Linked DNA regions of Homo sapiens: region 1 is linked to region 2. The links are contacts of gene promoters, found by promoter capture Hi-C in blood cells and fetal thymus (Javierre and others, 2016). All regions are on one chromosome and are shown on one strand. Each heading gives the region's core, a stretch centred on a gene start or on the middle of the fragment in contact. The rest is flanking DNA. Distances are from core to core; before and after follow the strand shown.

The links. Contacts are between HindIII fragments. The CHiCAGO score rates a contact against its expected background, and 5 or more counts as called.
Region 1: a contact is called between a fragment that was not itself captured here and the fragment with the promoter of PDILT in region 2, in 1 of 17 cell types (M2 macrophages). The highest score is 6.9, in M2 macrophages.

What each region holds. Positions count from the first base shown.
Region 1 is chr16:19,910,405-19,913,652 of GRCh38, forward strand. No RefSeq gene overlaps it. Among named protein-coding and RNA genes, the nearest start is that of GPRC5B, 27 kb to the left of the region's middle. The HindIII fragment of the contact is 806 bases long and covers 1,506-2,311 here.
Region 2 is chr16:20,402,952-20,406,121 of GRCh38, forward strand. It overlaps PDILT (protein disulfide isomerase like, testis expressed), which reads right to left and starts at 1,786. Exons shown (of 12, transcript NM_174924.2): 1 at 1,545-1,786. The HindIII fragment of the contact is 3,157 bases long and covers 714-3,170 here.

The sequences.
Region 1 (3,248 bases), core at 659-3,158, 490 kb before region 2:
TTTTGTATTTTTACTAGAGACAGGGTTTCACCATATTTGTCAGGCTGGTCTTGAACTCCGACCTCAGGTGATCTGCCCGCCTCGGCCTCCCAAAGTGCTGGGATTACAGGTGTGAGCCGCCATGCCTAGACTTTGTTTTAAAACAGTTAATCTTTTAAAATTGTTTTTACTTTTTATGATGGTAATTTCCACAATCATATGTAGTATGTGTAGATTCAACATCGCCCAGATTTAGTAGATATCAATCTTTGCAATCTCATTTCATCTATCCCCACAGCCCAGATTCAAAATTTTTTCTTAAGAGGGATTTCTCAAAATTTAACTTAAATATTTTTTAAAGTCAAAATCGACCCCACTCCTCTCTTCACACTTAGTCTGTTTTTTTTTTTCTGAGAATATTCAAAGTAAAATTTTAGGCATTACATCATTTTATGTCCTGGAATTTTTTTTTCTTTTTTTCTTTTTGAGAGGGTCTTGCTCTGTCATCCGGGCTGGAGTACAGTGGCATGATCACAGCCCACTGCAGCCTTGAACTCCTGGGCCCAAGCAATCCTCCCACCTCAGCTTCTCGAGTAGCTGGGACTATGAGCACGTGCCACCACACCCAACTAATTTTGTTTTAATTTTTGTAGAGACAGGGTCTCACTGTGTTACCCAGGCTGGTCTCAAATTCCTAGGCTCAAGAGGTCCTCCTGACCTCCCAAAGTGCTAGTATTATAAGCATGAGCCACCATGCCCAGCCTATCGCAGGGATCTTTTAAAGTTGTTCTATGCACTCATACTGTGTTGGGAATACTTATACCAATAAAAAATGTGTTCCATTGCAAGTAAGAGAAGACTCAAATAATAGGAGCTTAAACAATCAAGGCATTTAGCTAATGGGAAGTTTGGAAGTAGAGGGTCAGAGGTTGGGGCAGTGACTCAGTGACTGCGAGGCACTGGGGTGCTATCTCTGTGAAGCCTTGGTTTTTACCTCATGTTTGTAAGATGGCTGCCAAAGCTCCAAGCTTCACATCACGACACAACAGTGTTCAAAAGAGAAAGGGTGGGAAAAGGGAGCAATAACAAACCTCTTCCCCAAGTGGTTCTTAACAGCATGAAGTCTGGGGGATGCCAGGCCTTATAGCAGGGGTTCTTAAACTTAAGTGTGTGTCAGAATCACCAGGGGAGCCTGACATTGGTGGCTGATGCCTGTAATCCCAGCACTTTGGGATGCCCCGGCCGGGGGGATTGCCTGAGCCCAGGAGTTTGAGACCAGCCTGGGCAACATATGGAGATCCTATCTCTACAAAAAAAAAACCCAAAATTAGCCAGCCATGGTGGTTCGAGCCTGTAGTCCCAGCTACTCAGGAGACTGAGGTGGGAGGATCACTTGAACCCAGGAGGTTGAGGCTGCAGTGAGCTGTGATTGCACCACTGCATTCCAGCCTGGGTGACAGAGCCAGACCTTGTATCCAAAAAAAAAAGAAAAAAAAAAAAACACCAAAAAAATGAATCCCTTTGAAAGCTTTATAAATCAGTGCTAAGTCCCACCCCCAGAGTCTCTGAATCAGCAGGTTGAGGTAGGACAGAGGGAGAATCTGCATTTCAGACACGTTCCCAGTGAGCCTGATGCCGATGTGTGGGTCCCTGCACCACGCTCTGAGAAACACTGGCTGATAGCAGTAGGTCTCAGCCCTGGTTGCACATTAAAATCATCTGGGGGAACTTTAGAAAAAAATCCTGATATCCCAGCCACACAAGGGCCCCAGAACATCAGAATTTCTGCAGTTAGGATCCAGGCATTAAAAAAACTAAACCTCTTCCCCCCCACCTCCCCCACTTCCTTTCCCCGCTTCCCCGTGATCCCAGTGTGTAGGCAGGGCTGAGAACGGCTGTCTGAAAGCCTTAAACCCCGAGGTGGTTACCAAACACGCAGTCTTCAGCTCTACTCTGGAATCAGAATGGCTGGGGGCTTCAGATCTTGTGTTTTAAACAAGCATCCCCAGTGCACTGAAATTTGGGAATCACTCTCCAGCCACATGGTAGCTGCCATCCCATAAACCCCAGTGCGCTGGGGGAAATGACGTGAAAGTGATCCAAGCCATCTAATGATACAATTAGTAACAACAGCTAACATGCGCTGAGCCTTGCTGCAAGCTGGAACATTTAGATATCACATCTTCTAGCTCCCAGTATGAACACGAAAGAGGGGTGGAAGTGATTAGCCCCATTTGACAGATGGGATAACTGAGGCCCAGAGACATGAAATGACCTGCCTAAGGTCACTCTGTTGGTCAGTGGCAGAGCCAGGATTCGACCGAGTCTCTCAAGCTTTGAAGCCCACGTCTTTTGTGCCAGGCATGCTGCCTTTTGCTTCTTCTTTGAGGTCTTCTTTGGGAAAGGATGGGGTGAAAATTGGAGAGACTTGCAGGGGAAGTACAAATAATTCGATATCAATGAAGATGTAGCCTGGGTGGCCAGGCCATGGTGGTTGTCGAATCTACAATGAGCAAGATTCATGAGTGCGAGTCATCTTGCCTCTGCCTTCTGGAGCTGGCTCATTGGTATTAATGGATGAATGGGCCTCATTTGGGCAGTTGTAATTAACACGCTGACTACTGAGATGAGCTCAGCCCGAGTCACTCCTGAATGGCATAAAGCATTGCTCAACACGCGGCTCATCCATTACGTTGTTCTGGGTCCCAGGCTCAGGAGTGAGCCGGCCCCAGGCTCAGGGTGGTCAGCAGAAATGAAGGACTATTGGCATTTTCAAATCATCAGCTTAGTTTGAGCACTTAGCATTTCCCTGTCCGGCTTGGCATCGACGGCAGAAGCTTAATTAGTGGGGACCGAAGGAAGGAAGGCACTTAGGAAGTGAGATGAAGTTTGGGTTCATGTCCACACGAGCTGCTCAGAACTCAGTAATCGGGGCTTTGGATCAGACAGACTTGAGGTCAAATCCCTGTTCTGCCCCTTTTTTGGGGGAAATGACAAATGACCTCATCCCTCTGAGTGTCAGTTTCCTTTCCTGTAAAATGCGGATCATTATGGTGCCAGTTTCATTAGGTCATCATGATGGTGAAATAAAATAACAGGCAAACCCCTCAGCACCATCCCTGGCACCACGCCAAGTGCTTAATAAATGCTAGCTCTTATTAGTATTTACCTACACATTTATTTATTTATGAGAGGAACACAGCCCAAAAATATACACAACACTCACTGGGAAGAGGAATCATAAAAATAGGCTTAGAGGATCGATGGGG
Region 2 (3,170 bases), core at 536-3,035:
TCCCCCAGCCTCACAAAGTCCAAGCTCAGCTCCAACATCAGCTCCCTACCCCCTACTCAGAGGAGAGTGGCTGTCATGGGAAACTTTTATTAATGAGAATAGCCAAAATCGAGGGGCTGGTCACCAGCCATATTGTGCTGAGTGTCAACTGTGTGCATTCCCTCCACATTCTCCCTGTGTGCATTCTCCCTGTATGCCGTGGAGAGACCCCATGTCCCAGCCACTGTGGTTTCCCGCCAAGAGGGTGTGGTAACCTCCTTACTGATCCTGCCTCTGCTTCTACTCTTTGTGCTTCACCTCAACCCATTCCCCACACAACAATCAGACATTTCCTTTATTTTTATTTTTATTGTTTGAGACAGAGTTTTGCTCTTGTTGCCCAGGCTGGAGTGCAATCACATGATCTTGGCTCACTGCAGCCTCCGCCTCCTGGGTTTAAGCGATTCTCCTGCTTCAACCTCCCTAGCAGCTGGGACTACAGGCACCCGCCACCATGCCCGGCTAATTTTTGTATTTTTAGTAGAAACGGGATTTCACCATGTTGGCCAGGCTGGTCTCAAACTCCTGACCTCAGGTGATCCACCTGCCTGGGCCTCCCAAAGTGCTGAGATTGCAGGCGTGAGCCACCGTGCCCAGCAGAGATTTCCTTTCGACACAGGAATTCCATCACACCACTGTGCCTATCAAAAGGTGCTCACTTTTGTGCAAAAAAAAGCTTCTGCCTCTTTTTTTTTTACAATCCATTCGCAAAACCGCACACCAGCCAAACTGTTCTCTGTGGTCTACCAGGCCCCACTGGCTCTGGACCCATCTGACCTTATCGCCCTCCTCTCTCTCTCTCCTCCCGCACTCTGGGGAGCCACACTGGCCTCTTCCCTTTCCCAAGCACACCCTACCCGGGGCCTTTGCCTCTGTCTGGGGCACCCTTCCCTCACATCGTCAGCCTTTTCTGGTTCTCTGGGTCCTAGCTCGAATCCACGCTCATCAGAAGGGTCTTCCCGGGCCACTCTGTCTCACCCCATCTCAGCTTTCAGCACTCTCTGCCATATCACCATTGTTTGCATCATATTTTGTATTATTATTTATGAGTGTACTTTGTTGTTGTTGTCATTTTGAACTTTTTAATGTAAATACCATTGTTCACAGCTGTTTTCTCCCCTTCAGAACAGTGCCTGTACCAGATTTGGAACTCAATGAATGTTTGTTGAATGAATGAATGAATGGCCTAATTTAACTCTTACAGCAAACCCCATTGGTTCATTTCAGTGGTTCTCAACCATGACTATGCTGAGAATCTCTTGGAGAGTTTAATAAAAAATACTGATGTTCAAACCCAAACCCAGTAGGTTCTAATTTAATTGATCTGGGGTTGGGTGAGTCTGGGCATTATTATTATTTTTTAAAATCCTCAAGTTGATCCTAATGTGTAGCCATCTATACACCAAAACTGACACTTAAAACTTAAACTGGTGACTCCTGGTAGAGAAAAGCCTCCCAAGGCAGGGCCCATCAGTCAGATTTCCCATTTTCACTGAAGCTCATACCTGCAGGAAGCCAAGGCCACTCCCAGGGTTCCTGGGGCCAAGGTGGGGCTGTGCTGGGGGTGGGGCCACAAACTCTGTGGCCCTTAAGAAGGAAGGTTGTAGCCTGAAGAGGAGGCTCCTGGCTTCTCCTTGTGATCAGGGCAGGACCCGCAGACGACTGGGCATTCTAAAGAATCCACAGGCAGAAATGAAGTCCCTTCCTGGGCACACAGAGGCCACAGCAGCCTCAGCAGCAAAGTTCTGAGTTCTGGGGTTCTAGAGGACCAGGGGTGACCCTGTAGAAGAATGGGCCATTGTTGAGTAAGAGGGGGCCCTGCCTGGCAGCCCTTGCTGAGTTTGCTTGAGGGGCTAGAAACAAAACTCAGTGTGGGGTGCTGGGTATGGCCCAGGAGGGCTCTGAACTCAGTGCCTATAGATTGGAATTTGAATCCCAGCTCTGTCTTGAACAGCTGTATGGCCTTGAGAATGTCACTTACTCTTTCTGAGGTTCAGTTTCCATGCCTGTTACATGGCATCTAACTCATGGGGGTGTTGTAAGCAAAGTAAATTATGTGGAATTTAGAAGATAATTAATGATATGAAGAAAAATAAAACCTGGAAGGATGATGAGGAACGCCTGAGAGGGGGATGGGATAAAATAAGAGGATTTATGCAAAACGAGCAGCTCAGTACCTAGAAGGCAGGAGCCCCTCACGCATCACCACCCTGGCCTCATCTCCTAGGGGAGAAAGATCTCCACTCACCCTGCTCCAGCCACACTGGTGTCCCTGCCAGTCCTCCAATACAATGTCTGGGCCTCTACACTTGTGGTTTCCCCTGTTAGGGAGGCTCTTCACCCAGGTGGACTCAGGGTTCACCCCTTAGCTCGTTCCAGTCTTTGCCCAAATGTCACTTCCACAGTTGGGCCTTTCCTGGCCACTTTGTTTAAATTTGTAAGTGCCCCATCCCCCTCTCAGGCGTTCCTCATCCTCCTTCCAGGCTTTATTTTCCTTCATAGCATTAATTTTCTTCTAAACTCCACATAATTTACTTTGCTTACCTGGTGATAGGTGCTCAGTAAATATTTGTTGAATGAATAAAGAAAAGGCTGTTGATATTATTAGCATCGTTATTACTGTCAGAGTTTGCAGCCTTTGGCTATCTGCTGCCCAACTGTTATTAAATACTGATGGAGATGACTAACATTCATTTCACTAAATTTTAACATCTGTGGGTTTTAGTCCTAGCGCTTTGCTCTTCTCTTTCTTTTCTTTTTCTTTGAGACAGTGTAGTGGCGCGATCTCCACTCACTGTAGCCTTCACCTCCAGGGTTCAAGCGGTTCTCCTGCCTCAGCCTCCTGAGTAGCTGGGACTACAGGCATGCACCACCACGTCTGGCTAATTTTTGTATTTTTAGTAGAGACGGGGTTTCACCACATTGGCCAGGTCGGTCTCAAACTCCTGACCTCAAATGATCTGCCTGCCTCGGCCTCCCAAAGTGCTGGGATTACAGGCGTGAGCCACGGCATGCGGCCCCACTCTTCTCTTTCCATACTTAACTTCCATACTTTTGTTGGCTTGTTTAAATGCATGACTTCAAATACACCCCTTTATAAGTTACTCTCTCATTTACTCTCCAGGATTTGA